Regions from separate parts of the Homo sapiens genome. Here region 1 is linked to region 2. Evidence: promoter capture Hi-C in human tissues and cell types (Jung and others, 2019). All regions are on one chromosome and are shown on one strand. The core of a region is centred on a gene start or on the middle of the fragment in contact, and the rest is flanking DNA. Distances in the headings are between cores, read along the strand shown. Region 1 overlaps CXorf58 (chromosome X open reading frame 58). Region 2 holds the start of EIF2S3 (eukaryotic translation initiation factor 2 subunit gamma).

Region 1 (6,590 bases), core at 3,591-6,090, 130 kb before region 2:
CTCTGATGCATTCTTCAGTGTGTCCATTGCATTTTTCAGCTCCAGAATTTCTTTCTGCTCGATTATTTTTAATTATTTCATTCTCTTTGTTAAATTTATCTGATAGGTTTCTGAATTCCTTCTCTGTGTTATCTTGAATTTTGTTGAGCTTTCTCAAAACAGCTATTTTGTTTGTTTTTTGTTTTTTTACGTCAGAACATGAACACAAAAACAGCTATTTTGAATTCTCTATCTGAAAGGTTACATACCTCTGTCTCTCTAGGATTGATCACTGGTGCCTTATTTAGTTTCTTTGGTGAGGTCATGTTTTCCTGAATGGTCCTGATGCTTATGGATGTTTGCCAATGTCTGGGCATCGAAGAGTTAGGTATCGTAGTATTTACTGTAGTCTTTACAGTCTGCGCTTGTTTGTAACCTGTCCTTCGTGAAAAGGCTTTCCAAGTATTCAAAGGGACTCAGGTGTCGTGATCTAAATCTTTGGTCACTGCAGCCATATCTGCATTAGGGGGCACCCCAAGCCCAGTAACACTGTGGCTCTTGCAGACTTGTAGAAGTACTGCCTTGTTGTTCTTGGCTAAGATCCGGAAGAATTCCCTGGATTACCAGGCAGAGACTTTTGTTCTCTTTCCCTACTTTTCCCCCAATAAATGGAATCTCTCTCTTTCTGTACTGAGCAGCCTGGAGCTGGGGGACGGGTAAAACAAGCACCCTTGTGGCCACCACCACCACTGGGACTGCACTGGGTCGGACCTGAAGCAAGCATAGCACTGGGTCTCTCCCAAGGCCCACAGTGACCACTGCCTGGCTACCATTTACTCAAGGCCCAAGGGCTCTACAGTCAGCAGGTGGCAAATCCGGATAGGCTTGTGATGTAAACCACACTTTTAATAGCAAGGCTCTACAGTACAGGTTTTACTCCTTGGACCCTTATACATGACTATATTTAAGTTTTAAAAAGATGGACATTCTCATATTTGGCCATTTATAAACCACATATCAAAGGTTATTTTTCTGTAACCCTGGCAAGATCCCCCTTCTGGAAATGTACACAAAAACTGTGGCCCATCTTAAATCATGAGTTCTAGCATGTATGCAGGAGAGAAGACCACACAGCCTGGCAGTTTCTGATCAGATCCTGCATGTGCGGCATTGACTCTGAAGAGTTTTAGAAAAGGAAAAGGGACCACTTTTCTCCATGTTCTCAGGTAGTATCAGAGAAAATTTAACTTTATTTCAGAAAATTATCAAATGAAGCCAGGCTCGGTGGCTCATGCCTGTAATCCCAGCACTTTGGGAGGCCGAGGCGGGAGGATAACCTGAGGTCAGGAGTTCGAGACCAGCCTGGCCAACATGGTGAAACCCCGTTTCTACCTAAAATACAAAATTAGCCGGGTGTGGTGGTGGGCGCCTGTAATCCCAGTTACTTGGGAGGCTGAGGCAAGAGAATCGCTTGAACCCAGGAGGCAGAGGTTGCAGTGAGCTGAGATTGCACCATTGCACTCCAGCCTGGGCAACAAGAGCAAAACTCCGTCCAAAAAAAAAAAAAAAACACCTAGAAAATGAGCTACATGTTTTCATTATGGAATATGGTGTTTCAAGAACATTAATATTTATATAGATCAACTTCAAATGTGGAAGTATATGTTTATCCTACTTGAAGGATAAATTTATGCCACATTTATGTATAGAATAAGCTTGTAGTTACCCCTATAAAATATCATCAATTGTTTCTTTCCTAGGATTATATAATGAGGCTTTTTCAAGAACTGAAATCCTCCTGGGTCTACTCCTGCCACCCCCTTGCTGTACACAGGCTTGAGCAAATGAGAACCTTAGAGGCAGTGATTGGAAATCACTGCTTATGCATTAAAACCCATCATAATGCTGTATAATAACTTAAATTTTTGTTTAAATTAGCCCACAGATAGAAAAATATGCCTCCGTGCCTTTATCTTCTGTGCTACAACTTTCACTCTCCTGGGGTAGTCATTGTTAATGGTTTGCTGTGTATCCTTCATGTTTCCCATGAAAATACACACATAGAGATTTTTAAATTTTGTTCTTATTATAAAAGTGTGGTCATATTATTGACCTTGAATTTTTCACTAAACATCATAACGGGTTTTAAATGATCAGAACATACCCAACTTGAACAGTTTAAGGTTCCTTTTTCCCTTTAGTTCAGCTTCAAACTCTGGTAACACTTGGATTCATGGTTGATAGAAAACTTGTAAATATGGAATATTTCTCACTCTAAGCTTACTCAACTCTGTTGCTCTTTGTCTCTTTGTGTTTTTTGTTTGTTTTTGTTTTTTGTGTTTTTGTTTTTTGTTGTTGTTGTTGTTGTTTTTTAGACAAGGTCTTAATCTGTTGCCAAAGCTGGAGTGCAGTGGCACCATCTCGCAATCTTGGCTCACTGCAACCTCCCCCTCCCAGGCTCAAGCAATTCTCATGTCTTAGCCAGCTGAGTAGCTGGGATTACAGACATGTGCCACCATGCCTGGCTAATTTTTGCATTTTTTTTTAGTAGAAAGGAGGTTTTGCTATGTTGGCCAGGCTGATCTCGAACTCCTGGCCTCAAGCGATCTGCCCACTTCCGCCTCCCAAAGTGCTGAGCCTACTGAGCACTTTCTATCAAATATGATCTTAAACATTTTATGCACATTACTCTATTTAATTATCATAAACACTACAGTGTATTTTCTGTTATTATCCTCATTTTAAAAAAGACTGAGGGCCGGGTGCTGTGGCTCACGCTTGTAATCCTAACACTTTGGGAGGCCGAGGCAGGCGGATCACTTGAGGTCAGGAGTTTGAGACCAGCCTGGCCAACATGGTGAAACCCATCTCTACTAAAAATACAAATATTAGCCAAGCGCGGTGGCACGTGCCTGTAATCCCAGCTACTCGGGAGGCTAAGGCAGGAGGATCGCTTGAACCCAGGAGGCGGAGGTTGCAGTGAGCCGAGATTGCACCACTGCACTCCAGCCTGAGTGACAGAGTGAGAGTCTGTCTCAAAAAAACAAAAACAAAAACAAACAAACAAAAAAGACTAACTTGCCTAAGGTCTCACACCTGGAAAATGAAGGAACCGAGATCAAGACCTAGTAGCCTGCCTCCAAAGTCCCAGTTCTTAACCACTCCTGAGAGTTAGGAACTATGCTAAACAGCAGCATACACATTCTCTTAGATGGCCCTGCAATAACTCTGGTTAGGGACACATTATTCCCATTTTCCCTATTAGGAAGCTAGAAGTTGGAAAGACTTGCCAGGAGCATAACTGAGACTTGAACACTTCTCTGTGTTTCCACTGTACTATGTACATTTTGAGGTTAAAACAACCATGCAGTTATGGTGGTTTTGTTTATTCTGAACCTGTATGTAATTGGACTGTTCCAAACCAAGAAACTGTTCCAATGCATGGATACCAGTTATTACCTCTTCCATGAGTGACAGTTCCCAGTAGAAACAGGAAAGTGTCTTGAGATACTAGAGTAGCTTTACAAGCCCAAGTGTGGATCTAGGCCAGCAAATAGCCACAGAGCTGTGGGGGCTTCTGGCCACAGAGATGCTGAGTATCAGGATAAGTGCCAGATTTAGAGATGGCCCGCTTTGACGCTTTGAGTCACCCACTAAGAACAGAACCTGCCTCTTGAATCCTACCCTGATTGGCTGGTATCCTGGAATCTTTGCCTAGTTTTTGCCCTTGCTTTTCTCCTGGCTCTAGGCTCTTCTTTCCCATTGCTTCCTATGGAGAAGGACTTTCTTGACTTTGGCCATACACTGCAGATGTCTGAGAAAGAACATCTTGGCCATTGGACAGCAAACATTTCTCAAACCCCTCTCACAGGTGGGCAGAGAGCTTGCCCTATGCTGCCAGGCATGTTTTTCTTTGGCTGAGGGACCAGAATGGGCCAGACACAGATGAGGCACACAACTGAGGCACTGCACACATAAGGAAACTGGGTCTTGGAGAGATTGGTGGTGGTGGCTGAGTGGGGCAGTGTAGGGAGGACCTGTCAATAAATACCTTTTTGGGGAGGCTAAGGTGGGCGGATCACTTGAGGTCATTTCAGGACCAGTGTGGCCAAAATGGCGAAATTGTCTCTACTAAAAATACAAAAAAAAAAAATTAGCCAGGCATGGTGGCACGCACCTGTAGTCCCAGCTACTCAGGAGGCTGAGGCAGGAGAATTGCTTGAACCCGGGAGGCAGAGGTTACAGTGAGTCAAGATGGCACCACTGCACTCCAGCCTGGGCGATAGAGGGAGACTCTGTCTCAGAAAAAAAAAAAAAAACCCTAAATAAATACCTTTTGTACTGTGGCTCACGCCTGTAATCCCAGCACTTTGGGAGGCCAAGGCAGGCAGATCACCTGAGGTCAGGAGTTTGAGACCAGCCTGGCCAACATGGTGAAACCCCATCTCTACTGAAAATACAGAAATTAGCTGGGCGTAACCCCAACACTTTGGGAGGCCGAGGCAGGTGGAACAGAAGATCAGGAGTTCGAGACCAGCCTGGCCAACATAGTGAAACCCCGTCTCTATTGAAAACAAAAATTAGCTGGGCATGGTGGTGCACGCCTGTAGTCCCAGCTACTCAGGAGGCTGAGGCAGGAGAATCGCTCGAATCCAGAAGGCGGAGGTTGCCGTCTGCCGAAATGGCACCTCTGCACTCCAGCCTGGGTGACAGAGCAAGACTCCGTCTCAAAAAATAAAAATAAAAATTTTAAAAACCCTTTTTTAGTAACTTCAGCTAAAGTAAATTATAGTTATGCCTACAGAAATTCCTAAAGCAGAAATTATATGGTCTTCATACCTGTTCAGTGTACAATTACTTGTTTTTACCTTTAGTGTCACTGTGGGGCTGGTTAATTAGAACCATAAAATGTTGGAAATTAATTGCAAGAAAACATAATGGAGAGATTTGCCAATACTATCTTTATTTTATTTATTTATTTATTTATTTATTTATTTATTTATGAGGTGGAGTCTCACTCTGTCGCCCAGGCTGGAGTGCAGTGGCACAATCTCGGCTCAGTGCAACCTCCACCTCCTGGGTTCAAGCGATTCTCCTGCCTCAGCCTCCCAAGTAGCTGGGATTACAGGTGCTCACCACCCTGCCTAGCTAATTTTTGTGTTTTTTAGTAGAGACGGGGTTTCACCATGTTGGCCAGGCTGGAATCGAACCCCTGACCTCAGGTGATCCACCTGCTTTGGCCTCCCAGAGTGCTGGGATTACAGGTGTGAGCTACTACACCCGGCCTATCTTTTCTTTAGTTGTGTAATGTATAAAGAAATTTGTTGTGGGGATGAGGGAGGGGGGAGGGATAGCATTAGGAGATATACCTAATGTTAAATGACGAGTTGATGGGTGCAGCACACCAACATGGCACATGTATACATATGTAACTAACCTGCACATTATGCACATGTACCCTAAAACTTAAAGTGTAATAATAAAAAAAGGGAAATATTTATGGTTATGGAAATGCTTGCCCTGATAAAAATCCTACATATTGTTTTTTTAAATTCACATTTTATGCTTATACAATCTCTAGAGCTCTTACTATGTTGCTATAAGACAGTAATATAGTGATAATTTACCAACTTTATTGAAAATGTTGTTACATCAATAAAATAGCATGCTGGAAAAAAAAGAAGAAATTAATGAAATATAAAGCAAAAATGATCTACCTAAAGGAAAGCTCCATATCACATTTTCACTAAACTGTTTGTCTCTTCAGTTCTATACGTTAGGAATAAAACTTCAACCATTCAACCATTTGAATGTTTTCTTCCTTTTTCATTTTCTACATGTGTCTGTGATATTCTAAGCTTTGGAATTTAAAAAAATAAATAAAGGAATAGTCTGAATAACAAAAGTGAGAATTGGAATAGAAAATGCATTATAGCTTGCTGTTGTGTGTTAAGAAAAAAGAACAGTGATTCTCAGTTTTGATCCTGTCTCAACCACTCTTTCTTTTCTCTTTTTTTTTTTTTTTTTTTGAGACAGCATCTCACTCTGTCACCCAGACTGGAGTGCAGTGGCATGATCTCAGCTCACTGCAACCTCCACCTCTCAGGTTCAAGCATTTCTCCTGCCTCAGCCTCCCGAGTAGCTGGGTTTACAGGCACATGCCACCATGCTAGGCAAATTTTTGTATTTTTAGTAGAAAAAGGGTTTTGCCATGTTTGCCAGGCTGATCTCGAACTCCTGACCTCAGGCGATCCGCCTGCCTCGGCCTTCCAAAGTGCTGAGATTACAGGTGTGAACCACCGTGCCTGGCCTCAACCACTCTTTTAGGCCTTGTATCAACATTATAACAGAGTTCCCATACTTTCACAAATACCGCATTCTGACATACAAAGGAAGAAAGAAACTTAACTGGAATCAAAAGATGTTTGAATTTTCTTTTCTTTTCTTTTCTTTTTTTTTTTTTTTTTTTTGAGACAGAGTCTTGCTGTGTCCCCTAGGCTGGAGTACAGTGGCATGATCTCGGCTCACTGCAACCTCCGCCTCCTGGGTTCAAGCGATTCTCCTGCCTCAGCCTCCCGAGCAGCTGACATTACAGGCACCTGCCACCACGC
Region 2 (7,213 bases), core at 4,325-6,824:
GGACTACAGGTGTTAGCCACTGGGTTCAGCTAATTTTTGTAGAGATGGGGGTCTTCCTATGTTGAGCAGGCTGGTCTGGAACTCCTGGGCTCAAGAGATCCTCCAGCTTTGGTTTCCCAAATTGCTAGTGAGAGGTGACAGCGTGCTGGCAGTCCTCACAGCCCTCGCTTGCTCTCGGTGCCTCCTCTGCCTGGGCTCCCACTTTGGCGGCACTTGAGGAGCCCTTCAGCCCACCACTGCACTGTGGGAGCCCCTTTCTGGGCTGGCCAAGGCTGGAGCCCACTCCCTCAGCTTGCAAGGAGGTGTGGAGGGAGAGGCCCGAGCGGGAACCGGGGCTGCATGCGGCGCTTGCGGGCCAGCTGGAGTTCCGGGTGGGCGTGGGCTTGGCGGGCCCTGCACTCGGAGCAGTCAGCCAGCCCTGCTGGCCCCGGGCAATGAGGGACTTAGCACCCGGGCCAGCAGCTGCGGAGGGTGTACTGGGTCCCCCAGCAGTGCCAGCCCGCCGGCGCTGCTCTCGATTTCTCACGGAGCCTTAGCTGCCTTCCCGCAGGACAGGGCTCGGGACCTGCAGCCCGCCATGCCTGAGCCTCCCACCCACTCCATGGGCTCCTGTGCGGCCCCAGCCTCCCCGAGGAGCACCACCCCCTGCTCCACAGCGCCCAGTCCCATCGACCACCCAAGGGCTGAGGAATGCGAGCGCACGGCGCAGGACTGGCAGGCAGCTCCACCTGCAGCCCCGGTGCCGGATCCACTGGGTGGAGCCAGCTGGGCTCCTGAGTCTGGTGGGGACGTGGAGAGTCTTTATGTCTAGCTCAGGGATTGTAAATACACCAATCAGCACCCTGTGTTTACCTCAAGGTTTGTGAGTGCACCAATCAACACTCTGTATCTAGCTGCTCTGGTGGGGCCTTGGAGAACCTTTATGTCTAGCTCAGGGATTGTAAATACACCAATCAGCACCCTGTGTTTAGCTCAAGGTTTGTGAGTGCACCAGTCGACACTCTGTATCTAGCTGCTCTGGTGGGGCCTTGGAGAACCTTTATGTCTAGCTCAGGGATTGTAAATACACCAATCGGCACTCTGTATCTAGCTCAAGGTTTGTAAACATACCAATCAGCACCCTCTCTTTAGCTCAAGGTTTGTGAGTGCACCAATCGACACTCTGTATCTAGCTGCTCTGGTGGGGCCTTGGAGAACCTGTGTGTCAAAATTCTGTATCTAACTAATCTGATGGGGACATGGAGAACCTTTGTATCTAGCTCAGGGATTGTAAATGCACTCGGCTCTACCAATCAGCAGGATGTGGGTGGGGCCAGATAAGAGAATAAAAGCAGGCTGCCCGAGCCAGCATTGGCAACCTGCTTGGGTCTGCTTCCACACTGTGGAAGCTTTGTTCTTTCACTCTTTGCAATAAATGTTGCTACTGCTCACTCTGGGTCCACGCTGCTTTTATGAGCTGTAACACTCACCGCGAAGATCTGCAGCTTCACTCCTGAAGCCAGCGAGACCATGAGCCCACCGGGAGGAACGAACAACTCCAGACGTGCTGCCTTAAGAGCTGTAACACTCACCGCGAGGGTCTGCAGCTTCACTCCTGAGCCAGCGAGACCACGAACCCACCAGAAGGAAGAAACTCCAGACACATCCGAAACATCAGAAGGAACAAACTCCAGATGCGCCACCTTAAGAGCTGTAGCACTCACCGCGAGGGTCCACGGCCTCATTCTTGAAGTCAGTGAGACCAAGAACCCACCAATTCCGGACACACTAGGATTATAGGCACGAGGCCACCATGCCTGGCCTGTATTTTTTTTTTTTCCTCTGAGACAGGGTCTCACTCTGTCAGCCAGGCTGGAGTGCAGTGGCGCTATCTCGCTGGAGTTGTTTTTTTTTGTTTGTTTTTGTTTTTGAGACGGAGTCTCGCACTGTATCCCGGGCTGGAGTGCCATGGCACGATCTGGGTTTACTGCATCCTCCACCTTCCGGGTTCATGAGATTCTCCTGCCTCAACCTCCCGAGAAGCTGGGATTACTGGCGCACAGTACCACGCCCGGGAAATTTTTTTGTATTTTTAGTAGACAGGTTTCACTATGTTGGCCAGGCGGGTCTCAAACTCCTAACCTCATGATCCACCTGCCTTGGCTTCCCAGAGTGCTGGGATTACAGGCGTGAGCCACCAAGCCCGGCCGGATTTTTTTATTTAGATAAAGTTCACATGTCCTAAGATTCACCACATTAAACTGTACAATTCACTGGTTTTTAGCATATTTACAAAGATGTGCAATCATCACCACTGTATAATACCCCGGCATTTTAATCACCTCAGTGTGTTTTTGTAATTGGCTGGTATAAATATTTAGAATCTAAGATTAAGGCGGGGCGTGGTGGCTCAGGCCTGTAATCCCAGCACTTTGGAAGGCAGATCACTTTGAAGTCAGGAGTTTGAGACCAACCTGGCCAACAAGGTGAAACCTTGTCTCTAGTAAAAATACCAAAAAATTAGCTGGGCGTGGTGGCGTACACCTGTAATCCCAGTTACTTGGCAGGCTGAAGCACGGGAATTGCTTGAATCCAGGAGGCAGAGGTTGCAGTGAGCTGAGATTGTACCACTGCACTCCAGCCTGAGCGAGAGAGCACGACTCTGTCTCAAAAAAAAGAAAAAAAAAAAAGAATGTAAGATTAAAGTGATTACCTCCAGTTTTCACCATCACTTAACTAATGCATGCATTTATTGAAACATAACTTCCTATTTTAGCTAAATTGTTGTACCAAAAATTTATGTGATATAAAACACGTATTCATATAAATTTTACTTAAGTATTCAATGAACACACAGATAACCTAAATTCTATTTTTTTTTTTTTGAGACAGTCTGGCTCTGTTGTCCAGGCTAGAGTGCAATGTCTCAATCTCAGCTCACTGCAACCTCCCCCTCCCAGTTTCAAGCAATTCTGCCTCAGCCTCCCGAGTAGCTGGGATTACAGGTAGTGCCACCACGCCCAGGTAATTTTTCTATTTTTTAGGAGGGTTTTTGCCAGCTCAGGATTTTGGTCAGGCTGGTCTCGAACTCCTGATCTCAAGTGATCAGCCCACCTTGGCCTCCCAAAGTGCTGGGATTACAGACGTGAGCCACCGCACCCGGCCCAGAAAACCTAAATTCTTATTCACCTCTCCTTACATTTTTTTTCTGGTTTAAAATAGCTGTTTATAAAAAACAACTCCATTAAAAAGTGGGGAAAGGACATGAACAGACACTTCTCAAAAGAAGGCATACATGCGGCCAACAAACACGGAAAAAAGCTCAATATCACTGATAATTCGAGAAATGCAAATCAAAACCACATGAGATACCACCTCACACTAGTCAGAATGGTGATTGTTAAAAAGTCAAAAAACAAAAGATGCTGGCGAGGTTGTGGAGAAAAAGGAACGCTCTTACACTATTTGTGGGGGTGTAAATTAGTTCAACCATTGTGGAAGACAGAGTGGCAATTCCTCAAAGCCCTAGAGGCCGAAATACCATTAGACCAAGCAATCTCATTACTGGGTATATAGCCTCTAAAATATAAACCATTCTGTTATAAAGATACATGCACACATATGCTCACTGCAGCACTATTCACAATAGCAAAGACGTGGAATCAACCCAAATGCTCATCAATGATAGACTGGATAAACAAAATGTGGTACATACACACCATGGAATACCATGCAGCCATAAAAAGGAACAACATCATATCCTTTGCAGGGACATGGATGGAGCCGAAAGCCATTATTCTCAGCAAAGTAACGCAGGAGCAGAAAACCAAATACCGCATGTTACCACTTATAAGTGGGAGCTGAGTGGTGAGAACACATGGACACATGCGGGGGAACAACACACACTGGGGGCTGTCTGACGGCTGGGGGTGGGAGGAGAGAGAGCATCAGGAAGAACAGCTAATGGATGCTGGGCTTAATACCTAGGTGATGGGATGATCTGCGCAGCAAACCACCATGGCACACAGTTTACCTATGTAACAAACCTGCATATCCTGCGCATGCACCCCTGAACTTAAAAGTCGGGGGGAAAAAAAAGAGAGGTAGCAATTATCACCTTAATGAATTCCTTTCTTCACTTCTCATATTGCCCCTCATTTTCCCTAATTTCCCTCATTTTTTTCATTTATAATATATATATATTTTGAGACGGAGTCTCGCTCTGTCACCCAGGCTGGAGTGCGGTTGGCGCGATCTCAGCTCACGGCAAGCTCCGCCTTCCGGGTTCACGCCATTCTCCTGCCTCAGCCTCCGGAGTAGCTGGGACTACAGGCGCCCGCCACCACGGGCGGCTAATTTTTTTTTTTTTTTGTATTTTTAGTAGAGACGGAGTTTCACCATATTGGCCAGGCTGGTCTCGAATTCCTGACCTCGTGATCCACCCGCCTCAGCCTCCCAAAGTGCTGGGATTACAGGCGTGAGCCACCGCGCCCGGCCTCATAATATTTATTTCCTAAATAAGCTAACTTGATGACTACTTACAAGTATTCTAAAGTGAGCTTGGCTTCTCAGTATTCGTCATTGTGGCTTTCATATTATCTTTTCACTTCTCTTTACTATACTTTTGCATAATAGCTGTCTAACAAGTTTTTATGGAAATAAATTTATTGCAAACAAAAAAGGAAATAGCTGTTTATGATAAAATTTGTATAGAAATGCAAGGAGAAAAACAAATCACTCAACTGCTTTTCAACACGACGAAAAGTGGGTTAAGGTCTCAAAATTCTTTAAATTTTAAAATACCGATTTATCGGTAATCGAGGTTTTTTTGGATCTGCTTCTTTAAGAAAAAAAAAAACAAAACACACACACACAAACCAGCGAACTTCAGACGCTCTTACGACACCTAGCTATATTCACTGGGAACGCAATCTAACGTCACCAAGGCCCACCTCCCGGGCCCTAGAAATCGCTCTCTGGGAACAAGCTGGGGACTTTGATTTTGCTAGCCCTGCCCCTCTGAGCCCTTCACCAAACTTCCGCGCGGGGGCGCCCGCCCCACCTCCCGCCGGGGCTCAGCACGCGGCCTTCTCCCAGCCAAGAGCCCCGTCATAGGTGGGCGCCGACCCCGAGCCGATCTCGCTTTATTAAATTACAGAAATCGGTATTCAAAAAAAAAAAAAAAAAAGGGCGGGGAGGACACTCCCTCTTCTCTGTTCCCACACCCTAGCTGATTCCCAGGTTTCGGGAAACTCCACAGGAAACGGAAATGGTCTCTCCCAGGCCAGCGCGCGCGCCGGGTTGCATCACCCGCCTCGCACGGGCCGGCGGGGCGGGGGTTTGGTGGCTGCCCTCAGTATTGCCTGCACAAATATCTACCAGGTCTGCGACGAATAGCTCCAGCAACTTCGCACCGTGTTTTCCACTCAGCCTACCGACAGGCACTGTGCAGATTCAAGCGGAGAGATGTCCAAGCAGTGAGGCCGCTGCTGCACCGGCCATCCTGAGCCCCTACTCGGCCTTCCCGTCTCCGCTTCCCCGCCCCGCACTAGGACCCCTGCAGATGATCAGGCGGCAGCCGGGGTGATTTCCTTCCTCTTTTGGCAACATGGCGGGCGGAGAAGCTGGAGTGACTCTAGGGCAGCCGCATCTTTCGCGTCAGGATCTCACCACCTTGGTGAGGTTTTGCTTGGGGAGGATGCAGAGTGAGCTCAGGAGTGGAGGTGACCGAGCCTCCCGGTGGTATTGGGACTAGTCAGTGTCGGGAGCATGGGTCAGGAGCCTGGGTCAGGAGGGAGACCTGGAACTGGGCGCCCTAAGCCATGCTCGCGCCGCCTGTACCCAGGCCAGTCCACGATCTGGGCGCAGGCGTGTACGGTCGTGGGACTTCTAGCTTCTGGAGGGTTCGGCTGGAAAGTCTTGATGTTGATTGTCATGGTTTCAGCCTCTGAACGTCTGGGAAGGGGGTGTCCTGTCTGCATTACTTTTAGTGCTAATGTTCCCAAGATTGGGGGGATCTCTGACTTCCAGATATCCCCTAATAGTTGAGTGGAGGTGTAGTCTGTTGTGTAATGATGAAGGGCTCTTAACAGCTTCCCAGCCATAGGAGTACAAAGTTACTGATAGGGAAAAGGAGCTTTAGAAGTAGTGGAAAGCTGTGCAGATGGTGGCAAGATGTAGATAGCAAACGTAAAGTCAAAGGAAAAGTTCTCATTTGTTTTACGTGCAGTGTTTTAAAATATATTTCATTGCAGGATGTTACCAAGTTGACGCCACTTTCACACGAAGTTATCAGCAGACAAGCCACAATTAACATAGGTAAGAGTAACTTAAGAGACCTAACCTTGGTCTCCAACAATTAATTTTAACCTCACTTTTTGTGTGATTACTTGAATAGTATGAGGATTCAGATATTCAAGAAATAGATACTGAGTCCTTGTGAATAAAGCATCTGCTACATTTGCGGTGCAGGGGGAGCACAAAGAATGCTGCCCACATGTAGCTTACAGACTCGGTAAGAAGAAAAAATGGAGACATAAGAAAAGTTTAATAGCATAAGGCAGTATGTAGTCATATGTAGCAGAAGTTTAAGGAAGAGGTGAAAAATGTGGCTGTACTTGACACACAGGATTATTTCAAGGGCAGAATTTATGAAAGTTTTATTTGATGTACAAGCTGTGATTAAATAGAAGGTTTTTTTTCTTAATTGGCACCTAGAACTTTAGAGGAGAAGTTACGTTGACTGAGTGTAAATTTTGGACATTTTGAGTTTGTACAAACAGCACAGTTTGTACGAAAGTAAGTTAAAAAGTACAGAAGTAAGTTAAAAAGTAAGACTAGTTTTTAACCTAGTTAAAAAGTAAGACTCCACCATGAGGCTATTAAAGTTACAGTATTACAGTCTGGAGCTTTAATTTATTAATGCAAACAAAGCCCAAATAAGCCTACAGGCCTTGAACTACTGCCCCTGCATTAAAAATTTTGGTTGAGGTGACCTTGGAGCATAACCTAACCTCCGAACAACCTATGCTAAGACTATACCAGTTAAAGCAAATTACTGTGCATATATTGACCCAATAATTTGATCAACGGAACAAGTTGCAATTAAACTTAGGTTGTTTCCTTGTTTGTTCACAGATCCCTTTTTGTTGTGTCAGGGCCCATCATACCTGTTTAATCTGGAAATGCTGGAAGGTTCCTTAATATATAAAGTTCTGGCCGGGTGCAGTGGCTT

What was found. Contacts are between HindIII fragments. The study calls those that stand out against the background at their distance.
Region 1: a contact is called between a fragment that was not itself captured here and the fragment with the promoter of EIF2S3 in region 2, in 1 of the 25 tissues and cell types used here (heart right ventricle).

Annotation. Positions count from the first base shown.
Region 1 is chrX:23,919,358-23,925,947 of GRCh38, forward strand. The region is part of intron 5 of CXorf58 (chromosome X open reading frame 58); the gene reads left to right. Among named protein-coding and RNA genes, the nearest start is that of CXorf58, 15 kb to the left of the region's middle. The HindIII fragment of the contact is 5,728 bases long and covers 1,977-6,590 here.
Region 2 is chrX:24,049,382-24,056,594 of GRCh38, forward strand. EIF2S3 (eukaryotic translation initiation factor 2 subunit gamma) reads left to right here and starts at 5,575. Exons shown (of 12, transcript NM_001415.4): 1 at 5,575-5,656; 2 at 6,234-6,297. The coding sequence starts at 5,588. RefSeq lists a silencer at 4,924-5,133 and enhancers at 5,194-5,743, 5,764-5,833. The HindIII fragment of the contact is 10,457 bases long and covers 1-7,213 here.